Regions from separate parts of the Homo sapiens genome. Here regions 2, 3 and 4 are each linked to region 1. Evidence: promoter capture Hi-C in 16 types of primary human blood cells and fetal thymus (Javierre and others, 2016). All regions are on one chromosome and are shown on one strand. The core of a region is centred on a gene start or on the middle of the fragment in contact, and the rest is flanking DNA. Distances in the headings are between cores, read along the strand shown.

Evidence for each region. Contacts are between HindIII fragments. The CHiCAGO score rates a contact against its expected background, and 5 or more counts as called.
Region 2: a contact is called between a fragment that was not itself captured here and the fragment with the promoter of PSMG1 in region 1, in 2 of 17 cell types (megakaryocytes and monocytes). The highest score is 7.6, in megakaryocytes.
Region 3: a contact is called between a fragment that was not itself captured here and the fragment with the promoter of PSMG1 in region 1, in 1 of 17 cell types (fetal thymus). The highest score is 5.4, in fetal thymus.
Region 4: a fragment that was not itself captured here is called in contact with the fragment with the promoter of PSMG1 in region 1 in 4 of 17 cell types (fetal thymus, monocytes, megakaryocytes and 1 more); the score reaches 7.7 in fetal thymus.

Annotation. Positions count from the first base shown.
Region 1 is chr21:39,182,104-39,185,847 of GRCh38, reverse strand. It overlaps PSMG1 (proteasome assembly chaperone 1), which reads left to right and starts at 2,397. Exons shown (of 7, transcript NM_003720.4): 1 at 2,397-2,596. The coding sequence starts at 2,463. It overlaps BRWD1 (bromodomain and WD repeat domain containing 1), which reads left to right. Exons shown (of 41, transcript NM_033656.4): 41 at 1-366. RefSeq lists silencers at 2,222-2,441, 2,642-2,721. The HindIII fragment of the contact is 4,125 bases long and covers 585-3,744 here.
Region 2 is chr21:38,375,574-38,379,317 of GRCh38, reverse strand. It overlaps a transcript of ERG not described here. Among named protein-coding and RNA genes, the nearest start is that of LINC01423, 31 kb to the right of the region's middle. The HindIII fragment of the contact is 185 bases long and covers 2,013-2,197 here.
Region 3 is chr21:38,397,734-38,401,477 of GRCh38, reverse strand. ERG (ETS transcription factor ERG) reads left to right here. Exons shown (of 10, transcript NM_182918.4): 6 at 833-904. Among named protein-coding and RNA genes, the nearest start is that of LINC01423, 54 kb to the right of the region's middle. The HindIII fragment of the contact is 658 bases long and covers 1,489-2,146 here.
Region 4 is chr21:38,472,278-38,476,021 of GRCh38, reverse strand. All of the region lies in intron 1 of ERG (ETS transcription factor ERG), which reads left to right. Among named protein-coding and RNA genes, the nearest start is that of ERG, 24 kb to the left of the region's middle. The HindIII fragment of the contact is 2,066 bases long and covers 659-2,724 here.

The DNA.
Region 1 (3,744 bases), core at 1,148-3,647:
TTAAGTTGTTGAAAGTAAGTTGTTTTCCCATTTAAAAATATCTGAATATATGATTTGCATGTGTAAATCTGAAAAACTAAACTACAGAAACCTAGGGTTTTCTATTTCTTTTTTAAGTCAAATGCATTTTTTTTTTTTTGTTATACAGATGAACCAAGTGTCTAAAATACTTGAGAAATTTGTGGTTGCATGTCTGTTTTAAAAAAAAGGCTTTTTGTTTTTTAGCATAAGCCAGAATATTCTAACCTACTAAGTCTGTGTCCTTTGCTCCTTTTGTAGTATACTTTCATCTAAATTACTGATCCCCAATATGTTGATACACAGGTGAGAAAGGGAAGAATTCCTAATAAACTGCTATTACTTTTAGGTGCATGGGGTTTGATTTTTGAGCTCTAATGAAATGCTTAAACTTCTTTCCAGTTCAAATTTTACACTTAATTTATAATATTTATTGAGTATATTATGTCCTCAACAAGTAACTATAAAATGAAATACTTAACTCGGTGAAGACTATTTTATGCAAAGTTTTTTTTTTTTTTTTTTTTTTTTTTTAGCAATTTCAGTGTAATGAAAGAATTTAAGCTTTGAATTTATAATTTGCTGTGGTGGGGTTAATTTCTGTCAGTATTTGAGATTGTATTATCAGTCTTGCATAATGAAATCCTTTTTTGGCTAAGTATTTAATTCGAACATATTTGCCTTTTTAAAAAGTGCTTGGCCTAAACTTATTGTAACTGCATGAAATAAGCATTTGCTTAAAACTTAACATTGTAAAATTGTTCTCTCTGAAATGTGTGCAGAATTTAAATCATGGCCAAATGTATTACTATTACCCTATTTACAGTAATTTGCTTTGCAGAAAATATTTCTTCATCATGGAACTGTGAAATCAAATTGAAGATCTTACTGGTAAAAATGACAAATTAACAAAAGGACTAAGACAAGTGGTGCCCAAACAACCTTTTTATTCTGCAGTTCCATCATCATAATAGACCAGTTAACCCAGGAGTCCTAATGTTTTAAAACATCATTGTGGTGATCTTGTTTATTCTATCTCACTAAGGATATCCAGTTTCCTAAGCTCTTACTGGCTAGCAATTTCGTCTTAATTTTATTGCTAAATGTTCAAATTTTGCTTCCAAACTCACTTTATTTTTGCAGATGTGTACATCTGCTAAGTACTAATTTTATGTAAATGATTTTGTTGATTATCTTTCCACATCTTAAAATGTTTCTAACAGCTTTGAGATTTTATCTCAACAGGCTCTCTCTGACCCCAAAGTAGTACTTACCTTCGTGACTACTGACAAAGTCACAAAATGCAGGCGATGTCATGTATTTCGGTACAACTAAATCTAGGAAACGGTTTTTTCATTGCATTACTGCATATTTTCATTTTCATTTAAATTATGTCCCCTTTTTCTCTTGCTTGAAACAGTGCTCCTCGAACTTTGTCTTCCAGCACATTTTAAAGAGAACCAATTAAAGAACAATCACACATTCTGCTTATTAAAGGCTATTTAAAAAGAAACATTTTGTATTAGAAAATGGCCAACTTTAAAACACTATTTTTTACACTCATAAAAATGTTTTTTAAATCGCCTTGACAATCATCAGCTTTTGAAATGTGAATTCCTATTGCCAGAGTAAAGGTCTCGTTTTTATACCACCACGAAGCGCTGTATTTCTTGCTGCCCTTGCGTCCGCCCGTGCCCGCTGTCTGAGGGCGCGCCTGGCTACGGGGGCCCTCAGTACCACCGCGCCGCCACCTACCTGGGCAGTCGAAATTTGGAGCGGGTGCTCAGTACACTAATGCTACCCCAGTCTCTCCTAACGCAGAAGGAAAATGGAAACGGACGATGAGGGGACGGCCCCACAGCTCCCGGACGCCACGGCCAGCGGCGCTGGCTCCGCCCCTGCACCCCTGGTTCCGCTACCGCCACGAACGGAGGCCCCGCCCTCCTCTCGCCCCCTGCCCCTCTAGCCCGCAGTCCTCCCACCTCCTGGCGCCCGCAGGGCTCAAGCTGCGAATGAAAGCCTTTGGGGGCCGGACGCGGTGGCTGAGGCCTGTAATCCAAGCACTTTGGGAGGTCTAAGGAGGACGATCGCTAGAGTCCTGGAGTTCGAGACCAGTCTGGGCAACATAGCGAGACCCCCTCCCCCAATCTGTAATTTAAAAACAAAAAAGCTGCGGGGACTGCTGGCCCAGGGCATGACAGCGCGGGCGGGCGGTGTAGAGGGCGTGGCCGCGAGCTCAGGGTGTGCCTGGGAGCGAGCCCTGTGCGGGGCGGGACGTAGCGCCCGCGCGGTGGGGGTGTGGCCGCGAGCTTGGGCTGTGCGCGGAGGGCGTGGCCTGTGCGGGGCGGGACTTATTGCCCGCGCGGTGAGGGAGCGTGGTCTCGCGCAAGCCGGCGTGCGGTCCCGCGGCGCTGCAGTTGTGTCCAGCCGGTCACGGGGCGGCTATGGCGGCCACGTTCTTCGGAGAGGTGGTGAAGGCGCCGTGCCGAGCTGGGACTGAGGACGAAGAGGAGGAGGAGGAGGGGCGGAGGGAGACGCCCGAGGACAGGGAGGTGCGTCTGCAGCTGGCGCGGAAGAGGTGAGGCACCGGGATAAGGGCAGCGCGCTCACCGCAGCTGGAAGGTGCGCGGGCCTGGCAGCCGCGACGGCGCCTAAGGCCGGGGCTCCGCGGTCTTCCGAGTGGCCCCCGCGGTTGCCGCCGCTCCTTGGCTCTGCTTGGGCCCTGGGTCTCCGTGAAGCCGCGGCGTCCAGCGGCGCCAGCCCCAGGTGTGTGTGGTTCTCGCGTGGATCTGCTGGCGTTTCGTGGAGTCCAGGGTGAAGCCGCTGTGGGAGGGCTGGGTTCAAATCCGTTCTTTAAAGGCTTTCTGGAGCGTTTCTGGAGCATTTCTGGAGGCTTGGTGTCTTGCGGACTCGTGATCTTCCCGCTTGTCACACTGTCTTGGGCCGCAGCGCTCCCGCGGGCCCCACCACGTTTGTCGTGGATTGTTCACGGACACACCAATTCCCTCGAAACTTTTTAAACCTGCACCCAACACTTCAATTAGCATGATGTGTCAGTAGCCGATGAACACGCTTTAAAAAAATTGTTTCCAAACACAAAAAAGTGGGAGAAAATAGTCAAGTGAGCCCTGACCCCTACACAACCGGGTAAATTCAACAGGAAGATTTTGCCACGTTTATTTTCTCTCCCGCCACTCCTAAGCGAATTCCAGTCATCATGGCCTTTCACCTCTACATTTTTCAGAATACATCTCAAACGTTTTAGGGATTTTCTTACATATGCTATTATCACCCCTAACAACACTAATACTAATTTTCCAGTATCATTTTGTAGTCCATGCTCACTCACGTTTACCTAGTTTTTTCAAACATGACATTTTACAGTGGTCTGCGTGAATGAGAATCCTAACAGGGTCCACAGGTTACATTTAGACGTGTCACTTCATTTAGAGCAACCTCCTCTTACCCCTCCTAAGAGACAGGACTGATTGTCTTGTCCAGTGCCCCCACACTCTGAATTTGTCTGATAGCTTCGTTGTGGTGTCACTTAACGTTTGTATCACCTGCATGTCCTGTAAAATGAATGTTCATTTGGAGGCTTGGTCAGATTCTCATTCAAAGTTTTGTCGGCAAGAATGCTTCTACTAAGTGGTGCTTTCTGTTTCTTATTGCAGGCTATCCCCAGCTGTCTCACTTTTAGGGATGCTAAGATTGGTTCTTGGGTCA
Region 2 (3,744 bases), core at 856-3,355, 810 kb after region 1:
CTAGAAGGGAGGTCGCAGGATTAAACCCCAGGCTGCGGCCCTTGAACTTACTTGGTCATACTTTACTCAGATGAGGATACAGAAGCTATCCTGATCTCAGCTCCAAATGCCATGGGGCTGAGATGACAATAGGTTATGTGACACATCCAGGATGCCAAAGAACAGGCTGAGGTGACGGGTTAGATCTTGAAGGTGTTAGGACCTCCATCCAGTCCTCCCCAAAACATCTGGGAGTTTGATGGAGCAGCAGCACATGTGAAAAGACTTCAGCGTTTTGGAGATGACAGCAATGAGATGTAGAATAGCAGCTTTTAATGAGCCATGACTAGGTCAGGTGCTGTATACACACTGCCTCATTACTCCTTCCAACTGCCCCTACGGTACACTTAAAAAAATGTCTTGACAGATTGAACAATTTGCCCAGCTCTGCAGCGTAAGAGGTGCAACAAATGCTTGTTCCAGGGCTAGTTAATTCCAAAAGCTTTTTCTTAATCTTAAGCTATTTTGCCTCATATGGACAGAAAATTAAACGGGAAGGTGACATGACTGCCCAATCTTAGGTTGCATTTTCTGAAACAGGTCACAAACGAGGACTTATTTGTTATACATTAGACTGCAACATCAATTCTGGGCCTACACTTAAAGAGGGACATAGGACAGTTAGTGCAGGTTCAGTGGGGAGAGACAAGGGGAATGAGAGAACCCAGGACCATGTCAAGTAGGGGCTGTCAGTGTCTCTGCTGAAAGTGGGATTACCCTTATCACCCATTGATTCAGGACCCAGCACAGTGCCTAGCAATATCAAGCTGTTGGAAAACGTTTGCAGCTATATGCATGAATGAACATCCAGAAAGGTAACATCTGGACTAAAGGTGGGCTCAGCAGGGATGCCCATTGGCCAAATTCAAGAGAAAGCTTTTTAGAAGTTGGAGGAGGTCCAGATGGAATGGTCAGCCTTTGTCCAGGAGTTCCTGGATATGAGGTGTGCTTATTTAACAACCATGCAACTATTTGCCAGGTGTTTGGCAGCACATGGACTACATGGCTATTTAGGTCTTCTTCGGTCCAGTGCAACTTGGGTTCTGTGAAATATTAAGTGTTGTCCATACATAGAAAGTCAGGGGTGAGAGTCTGAAATCAGTGATGGCTTAGTGGCCTCACTCTTGATCAGTGCCAGTTTGTCCTAAGAGTCAGCAGTACATTAGGGCTTTAGACATTACAGAGACAGTGGAATCACCCCAAATTGAATTATGTTGTGGCTCTGTGTCTCTAAATTGATTGGAGTCCAGTCTGCTTGGAGATTAAAATACATCCTATTTTCTCAGCACTGCAGGGCCCAGGTGAATGGTGAGAAGCAGCCAACTGATGGGATAAATGAACTTTGCTTTCATGTTTTCTCACTTATGAGGAAGACCACCCCCTACAGCACACTTGCATAAAAACATGTCCTGAGGGTGGTTGGTCACAGCCTGCTCAGCATTAGACATGCATCAGCTGAAAGAGTGTCAGTCTGCCTCAGGGGCCCTCAATCCCACTCCAGACTAACAATTTCCACCTCCAAGTCGTCGTGGGATGCCAGGAGCCAGGGCTGATCTCCATTTGCACTCATGAGGTTGAGGCTAAGGAAGGGGTGGGGTGTAGACAAAATATACAAGAAAGAATTTGGTGTAGAAGTCACGAACCATTCTGTAAAGTCTCTTAACTGGAAAGCCAGGATGTATCAAGATGTTAACAACTTTTTATTTTAAGTAAGTTCTCTTATTAATTTTTGGTTTTTCTACTCGGCAAGAATATAACTGAAACTTGTTTGAAAGGTTTGGAGGTGGGTGGATGTGTAACTTGCCCAACCTTTTTAAATTAAGGGTGAAGAGAAAGGAAAAGGCTAGCTGTCCTCTTCTTTTCTATGGCATCAGGGCAATGGTTTCTAAGCTGTCTCATCAGAATTGGCAGCAGGCTGCTGGCAGGAGGCGGAGGCTGGCATTCCAGTTCTAAGTAATTCCAGATATTAAGCTTTCAGGTCCAAAGAGGAGCCTCCCAATGGATATCATTTTCTCCTTTAAACAATAATACTAATTGCTACTACTTTTGATAATAATAATAGCTTAGTGCCAAACAATGTGCATACACTATCTTTTTCATTTAACTTGCACAATACCGCTTTGAGATAGTTTTATCCATATTTTACAGATGTGAAGCTTTGAGAGGTTAAACTATGTTATAAATCACTCTAAGTCACAGAAAAATCTTACAGCTTTCAGGACTTGAAATTGGAATGGCCTTCCTAAGCCATCGCTTGGACAGTCTTCAGGGCATGTCAAATGGAGTGCCCTCCCCTTATCTAGCTATGCTGGGCAGAAGCCCGGTTGTTGGTAGTTATCAGACAGGAAGCAAAGCGCAGCCCTCCCATTTCCTTGCTGCGCCCTTTGGTTTTAGGGCGGGAGTGCTGCTTGCTGGGGACGCAGGCGGACTCCAGGCCGCTTTGATGGAGAACACAGGATACGTGCTGCAGGTGCTCTTCTGGACGGAGTCCCAGCTGCTGGGCCATAACCTGGTGGAGGCGAGTGGGGCTGGGCCCCATGGCTGTGAAGAGACCCACCATACAGCGGCCTCAGGATTTTCTGTCTCCATCCGCTCTGATGCTTAGGGTCAGAGGAAAGGCCCTCTCAAGTCCGGCAGGGCCTGCCTCCAGGAGAATAAATGGCTGTTCCTTTCTTCCATCTTTGCAACCAACTCGGGAGTCAGGTGGATGAAAATGGAAACGTCCCTTTCCTAGTAGGAAGAACATGGGTTAAGCCTGCAGTGGGCAGACCAGCACTTCCACCCTTTCACTGATGTGGTTGGGAAGGTGCAGGACAGGAAGCGACTCCCATTGGACAGAGACCAGAACCGGTTTCCATCAGGGTAGGACCCGCCTCTTCCTGTGAAAGAGAGCGGAAGTGGTGGGAGAGAGCGAGAGTAACAACTGAGTGTCCGTCCCATGGAAACATGCATAGCGAGAAACGAACAACAGGCCCAGATTCACATCCGACAATTCCACAGTTCTCTTTAGAAGAAACCCCTCCCCTCATCATATTTTCTAACCTGAGACCCTGGGCCTGTCTGTGCCTCTGTGCATTCACACTAATGTGACATAGGGCATTTTAAAGTGGAACTATGCAATGGTCACTGGATTTTAAACCAACACTGTCAGGTCCATGTTCACTAAGCCACCCTACCCCAATTAAAAAGAAAATACTAACAGAGGGTCTATAGCTTTCATTCAAGGAAGGCTGAGTACTTGTTAAGATCATAGGATGGGCAACCACAATAGGATGAGCAAACAAACAAATGATTATTCATATGATGCTAGGAAGTTAATTAAGGCAGGAAGAAACTAGATAGAAGGGGTAAGACAGTTGGAAGGAGGCTGAATTGTTAAGTTAGTGTGTGATGTCCAGTTGTGTTGGGGGTGCAGGAGGATAATGAGCAAGACAGTGGGACTATGACTACCCGGGGCCCACAACAGACCAGAGATGCCTATAAAAGGACCCTGTGACTCCTGTGGAGTGTTATACACACCAAGTAAACAAGTGATGCGCAATCAAGCCAAATGAACCCAGGCTATAGAACGTTCAGCTTCAGTTGAGTGAACACTATGTTTTGAGGTCTGTTTACAGGTTGTGATTTCACCAAAGTGTTTCCTTTTCTCAATCCAGTTCTTCAATCCAATTCTCAGTTTTTGTTCCACGGTGTGTCGGGCTCTGT
Region 3 (3,744 bases), core at 568-3,067, 780 kb after region 1:
CTGAAGTTTTAAAAAACCTGCTTCGAGTTGGTAGTACACTTTTTCAATAATTTTGGTTGCACACATCAGCCTATTAGTGACCTTGTGGCCAGAAATAACAGATAACTTAGAGGAAGTTACTTCCCCTTCTTAGGAAACACCTTTGAGCTATGCACATTTTCTGATAATTTCACATTTATTTATGAGTTCTTTAACCATTGAGTGAAAGTTTCAAAAAAGCTCCAAATATATTAAATTTTGCTATTGTTAAACACGGAAGAAACCAATGAACAAGACAACAAATTCCAAATGGACTGAACTATGAAAAGGGAATTTTCTCAGCTAACAGCATGAGTTTTGGTCAAAAGAGAGAGAGGGAAAATGCATTTGAATAGAGATGTGGATTAATTATTAATAAAATCCATATACTCTTAGGCTAAATACTTATAATTGCTTGATACTACTTTCCAAAAGCTCTGTAAAATATATTATGGGTTTTTATACAAGTTGAAAAATAAAACATGTACCATATAATTTTTTAATAAAACGAGATTGCCCAGTGGGAAGTGGGATTGAGGGGGACACAGATAGGGCTTCATCAAGAAGTTATAAAATCAAAACACAAAACGCTTTATAGCAAACGGGGCACAGGAGTACACCAAGGCTCCAAGTTTCACTTCCATCTTGAGAATCTGACAGGTGCACCTGTCTGTTTCTCCGGAGCTCTGTTAAGGCAGGTTTGAGGAGGTCTCTTCCCTTTGTTGTCATAGGGAAAAGTAGATTTGGCGCTGATGTTGAGATCGACAACCACAACAAAAGACCTTCACATGTTTGTCTTTCCTTTTGTCTGCAGGGGGTGCAGCTTTTATTTTCCCAAATACTTCAGTATATCCTGAAGCTACGCAAAGAATTACAACTAGGCCAGGTACGAAAACACCCCTGTGTGATCTCTTCATTGAGAGACATCCCAGATGTCCTGCTGAGATCCGTGCCCTAAGTCACGTGATACAAAGAGAGCTGATCCCGGAGCTGAAGCCAGTCCCAGACAGTCTTATTCTGCCTCTGTTGATTTGGAGACTAAATCCACTCAAACCATTTCATTCAAAGACCACACTAAAGGAATTAAGAGCAGATTAGCCCTTTAACTAGCTTTTCAGAAAGACAGATGGGCAAAGAAGGCATCCTGGATGCCTGGCAGTTAGGAATAGGCCGACTTTTGAACTAACAGAAGGATCTGTCCCTCCTCGGGGGAAGAGCACAAAACAAGGACACTCCCCAGATTCACAGTGACCGATTATCAGTATGTCACAAGAAGCCAGTCTTGCAGAGCAGAAGCATGCAACCAGTAGTATTTACATCTGAATCTTACTGCCTGTCCTCCAAATGATTTAATTAGGTAATAAATTTACATGCCATTCATGCAAAAATAAACATCTATCAAGTGCCCATTAGTGCCAAGCGTGGTGTTAGACTCTGGGAATATATAGATGAACCAGGCTTCAGTAAGCTTCCTGTCTTCAGAAAGTTTACTTCTTCATTCAGCTTGGTTTGTTCATTTGCTGAGTGCCTCCTCTGTGCCAGCCACGGATGGTATGATGGTGAACAAACCGAAATGTTTTGCCTCCAGTTCTAGATGTTTCAGTAGAGTGACCTAGAGCCAGAGAGACACATATGTACACATAAATGTTTTCCCTAATGTGATAGATTTTATGGTAGAGGAACCACTTCTAGCAATACAGGGCGTAGGAGCAGGGGTGGGGAGGAACTCAATCCCCCATGAAAGGCATAAAGATGCTTTCCAGAGGAATGGCCACATGGCAAAGGGGAATTAGATGTTTGCCAGACGAATAATGAGCAGGGAGAGAGGGCATTTCCCAGAAGGGTATAGCTTGCCTTTAGCATTTGTCCTCTCCCTGGGACTTACATCAGCCCGATAAGCTAGGTATCATTGTACCAGCCTCACAGCTGATGACATTGTGTTCAGGGTGGTGGGATGGTTTCTCCATATTCATACATGCTTCCAGAATTCATGTTAAACTCTATCACATATCCGGAATACACAAGTCTCAGTTCGAACTGGTTCAAGATCTAGGCTTGGCAACTACTCTTTCTTTCTAATGAGAAAGACTGGGGGCCCAGGGAGCTAAAGAGAATGAATGAGGAAGCTTCTCAGGCTGTTCAAATACTGACACTGCCCTGGTTACTGCCTAGTGACTTCAGGCTGGCAATTTTCTCTTCTCTAACGTCAGAGAAAAAGTTTACTGTCTTGCTCCTGGGAAGCATGATGGAAAGGCTTAGCAGCTAAGGGGTACTAAGAGGTAGTAAGTCATCTCTGTCATGTAAAAGATTTCACAGGCCATTGAAACATGGGCAAGACCCAGTGCCTAGAGTCTGCAAGATTGGTCCTAAAGACATCCACCACGTGTATTGCGAGTGGAAAATAGAAATTCATGTTTGACTCAAGCTTTAGAGATTTTGTAATTCTGTGAGCATTTAAAAAATATTTCCATATAAACTAAAAAAATAAAAACTATTTCCAAAACATTTGGCTAGGGTTTTAAAAATTTTTTTACTTTTTAATTTTGTATTTGTTTGTTTATGTTAAGACATCTCATAGGTGCCTCTGACTGAGTTGCAAAGCCAGGGGTTGTGAGCTAGTATTATAAACTGTGTTAAAAGATCACAACACTGGCCAAATTCATTGGCACAATCTCTCTGTCAGACAAGCCAGCTGACTGATGCTACCTGGTTAAGACAGTGGGTCCTGGAGCTGCTTTGTTTTCACATTTTAGGATATGGTGGATTTGGAAGGTATGGCCCATCCAGGTGGATGGAGAAGAGGGTGACTGTGAGGATGTTGGTTGGGACTCCCTCTCTGCCCAACCCAGGGAAGGCAAGGGTGGCAAACTCAGACACCTCCCATGCCGCTCTGATGGTGGTCTTCCATGGGCCCATAATTTGAGCGTGACCTGGGAGAGAGCACACTTCCACAGCTCCACTACTAGTCAAGTATGTTTTCGCGACTCAGTTTGTACCTGAAATAACCTGTTTTGACCACTGCTACTGTGATTATGAGAACCAATACAAATATTGGTATCTGACCTGTAAAGAATTTAAAGCAGACTGAACAAGCCAGAGGACTATTTACTGTAGGCCCTATTCAGGGACTTGAACTTGGAGATAAGAACTAGTTATACACCTCGGGTCATCCATTGCTAAGCGATCAACCTTAAAGGACTGCTCCTGTGGAGATAAAAGCTGTGAACCTGCAACTGGAGAATGAACGTCGTGATGGCTGAGGGGGAAGAGCTTTTGCATCACTAACTTTCAGAGCTGAACGAGCTCCAGAGGGAGGTCACTGGGAATCTGACGATATCCCTGTGGTCAGTGGGTACCTGACTACTTTCAGAAAGGTGATTGTTGACTGTTTCTTTGAAGGTCCTTGGGGATACAGACCCAAATCCCTGTCTCCTCCACTCTTGGTTTGCTGTGCCATGATCTTCATTTCCATACCCTTTGTCTAATCCCACATCCGAGGGAACCGAACTCTGGTCAGCGTTATTGTGCTGACCATGAAGCAAGCCAGGCTCCTAGGTAACAACTCTACTTAGACCAGAATCTGTCTCTTCTCTGCATGGTGGCCGTTTCATTATAGAGTCCCTGATAGAGGAGACAGTGGTGTTCAGGGTTTACTGGTTAAATTAGACAGCATTCCGCACCCTTTCTGCAGAGACTCCTACACATGTGTGTTGTCCTGCTGCATCC
Region 4 (3,744 bases), core at 442-2,941, 710 kb after region 1:
TAGGCAGATTTTTAAAAATTTAATAACAAGTAGCTTCCTTTCTTTAGTTTGTCTCAAAAAATTCTTCCAAGAAATGGCAGAAAGGCAATGTCTTTTTATCCCTTTGGGATTTGGTGTGTGGAAATTGACTCATTCATTTACTCACTAAGGATTTACTGGGCACCCACTAGGCTCATGGGTGCTGAGGGGCATGAGCAGCAGGACAGCTGGGCTCACTCAGTGCTGTCAATCAGGGGGATGCAGATGGGGGAGACTGACAAATAGATCACAGCTCAACGAAGACAGAGTGTGGCAGGAAGTCAGGAGCCTTAGGAGGGAAGGTAGGGAACATGATAGAGCCAGGTGGCCGGGGGGCGGGACCTCTAGTTTAGAGAACATGATCAGGCAAGGCCTGTCAGACAGAGACCCAAAGAAAAGGTGAGAACAAGGTTTGCAAATGCCTCGGAGGAGTGATGCGGACCAGGGGAATGGCAAAGGCAAGGACCCCAAGGCGGGGACAGGCAGAGGGTGTCTGAGAGCAGCACATCCTCTTATAATCTAGTTTCACAGAGGAGGCTGTCAGAAGAACAGCCCTACCCTAAGGAAGGGTCCATCTGCTTTGATTGTAATCGGGCACAGTCCTGGACACCGAGTCCCTTTCTGTCAGGTGCGAAAAGCTTGGGGAATGCATCTTGGTCATGGGTTGCTACTAAAATGAGCGTGTCATCTTCAGGGGACAGGAATTAAAGGCACAGAGAAAAACTGAAATTATTTAGCTTCCCTTCCCTTCTCCCTTCTTCCCATCTCCCATCCCTTGCCACTGATTATGGTGGGGCTGGCTTTATATATTCTCTAGTTTCTCATATGTTGACTTATTTTTGCAGTCGTTTCAGTTCTAGGCCATTTGGTGCATTATGTTCCGCGTTTATGGGCATGCGCTTTGGAACCAGGCAGCTGGCTTAGAATTCTGGTGCATTAACTGGCAAGATGCTCTAGGCAACTTATTTAATTTTTGGAGTCTCAGTTTTCCTCATCTTTAAAATGGGCATAATGGTAGCTAGTGTGCAGGTTAGATGCATTAATTCACATGTGCATGTCTTTTAGAGCCGCCACGCTGTGATCACGTTATTAAATGTTAGATGTTATCAGGAAGGTCCTATATTGTCTACGATGCTTCACTTTCTTTGATTCATCTGTTTCACTGAGAAAAGTGAGATAAATTATCATTAATCTAGAGACATTTTTGTAGGCTAAAGGCTTCTTATCACAACGTTTTCTCCAAAAAATAACGAACAGACAAAAAAAAAAAAATGGAGCCAAGTCTTTCACCGTATTTGTTTGTTTATACAAGGGCTATATAGTCACCACCTTCCATACAGGTAGGAGTCTCATGACTTTTTGGTGACCCTTTCAGAGCAAGGGTTATTTCTGCCCCACAGGCATCATTTGACTTAGTGAGATTTTCAACACACCCTCAAAGCACATGTTTTTTAGGGCAAAGAGTTGAGGAGAAGAGAGGCAGGGTGAAAGTCTGAGCCTTTGGTGCAGCACCTCTGCTGGCTTCTGAGACTCTGTGTCACCCAGGGGTGGGAGGACAGTTCTCTCCAGGGCACTCATCAGGACCCTGCTGCCTGTGGTCATGAGACAAGGAGATCATGTGTCACAAAGGCACTCAACATGCAGAGGCGGTGTCGCCTGTCACCTGGAGGGGCTGCACGCAATGAACTTCCAGTCTCCATGTGACCTCCCACTTCTTGGCTTTCCTACTGAGGAATTTGCCATTTCCTGTCGAGAAGTCCAGGGTATACAGGAGCAGTAAATGCCGTGGAGAGGGTGGGGGCGGGAGAACCACAGGAAGTCCTCAGATATGACCATTTGGGTTGGTGGAGTCGGGACCAACAATGGGTTTTACCTCTCACAGTTAAACTCCATTGATGATGCACAGTTGACAAGAATTGCCCCTCCAAGATCTCATTGCTGTTTCTGGGAAGTAAACGCTCCTTAAAAGATTTACTTGTGAGTAAACTTCTAACCACTCTTCTTTAGCTGTCTAAGGAAAAAAAAGTCAGTTGGCTCATGTTTTCCAACTTACTTCCTATTATATACACACATACATATACACACACATACACACATATACAACACTTACACACACATACGCTCACACATACACATGCATACATACGCAAACATGTACACATACACATGCATACGTACGCAAACATGTACACATACACACACACACACATATATATATTTATGCCTGTTTAGATCCAAAATCACACACTTTATATAGATAAAACTTAAGTGAACTTTAATATCTGTACCATACATTTAACTTCATTTCACAAAATAGTAATATGTCCAAACCACGTCTTTCAAAAAAAATTTTCCCTCTCTCAATTATTTTCTCTGAGATTACAAAGGATATCTTCTCCTAGGATTTGTAAATGCATCTTAATTTTTGATGCTCCCAGATTTGAGTCAATTTCCCCTACGTGAAGTGAGGATTAAGTTTGAATCATTATTATTTCACCACTCTCTGGTATCTAAAATAATTATTTTTTTCTTATTTAAAATTGTCTTTAAAAAACAGCTTTGTATATATATATATATGTATATATATAATTGAATGCAAGGTCATATTAAGATTTAAAACCATGGGCTCAGTTTCTGAAAGAGCAATGAAAAGCTGGACAAGATAAAGGAAAGAATTCACTAAAGACAGAGGATCCCACGGAAGCTTCGCCTGCCTAGGCAGAGTGTGGGTAATATCCAGATGAGGCTGAAGTGATGTGAGTCAAATTTGGGAATTTATTTGACCTGGCTGAGCTCCTGTGCCCTTTTGACGTGTCTCTAAGCCTTTTTTTTTTTTTTTTTTTTGAGCGCATCCTCCATTTCATTTTGAAGTATGTATTTGTAGACGGTTTTATGCTGTGAAAATGAAAACTTGCTACACCTCAGAACTACGTCTCAGAAGGCAGCGGACTGGTCTTGCAGGTCCCGGAAGTTCTGCCCCGCAGTGCCTGCTGCCTGCCTCATGCCGGGTCTGCAGGCGGGGAGCCGAGGTCAGCCGAGGAGCCAAGCTCAAGGGCCGAGATGGGCTGCAAAACTCATTTCCTCCAGGCCCTGCTGGGGCTCCTTGAAATGGAAAAATAAAAAAGTCAGGCCCAGCATGCACCAAGACAGGGCAGACAAACGACAAGACTGCAGGTCTGAGCTCCAAGCGCACGAATTGCCCACGTGCAGCCATTTTCTGCTTTGAGCGTCATGGAAAAGAGAAACTTAGTAGCTGAGACACGTTTCTTCCCCTTCTCCTGTGATTTGGGAATGCCCTTTTCCAAACGTTCATTTTCTTTTTTCTCCCTCCTGACTCTCAGGGCTTCATGTTCCTTATCGTAGAGTGTAGCTGCCCTGTGGAGGCCTGCGCAATGTGATGAGCTCAGCGGGGGTAACCAATATTGCCACCTCACGTGGGAGCCTCACCACTCTTAGGACGTGTTTTCAGGGGAGAGTTAGAGTTTTAGAAGTTACAAATACCACACTCGCAAGCAAACTTTGGGGACACAACCTCTGTCTTTATCTCTAAACTGGTGATCCTAAAATATGTCCCGTATACTATGTGGAGTGGCATGGAGGAGCAAATGAGACGGTAATTGAAGGGTGTTTATTAAATTATAAAGTGCCCAGCGTATAATCCCGTCATTGACTTTACATAATGGCTAGTGTAACACCCATTGCATAGAGTGCTGGCATGCAGTATTT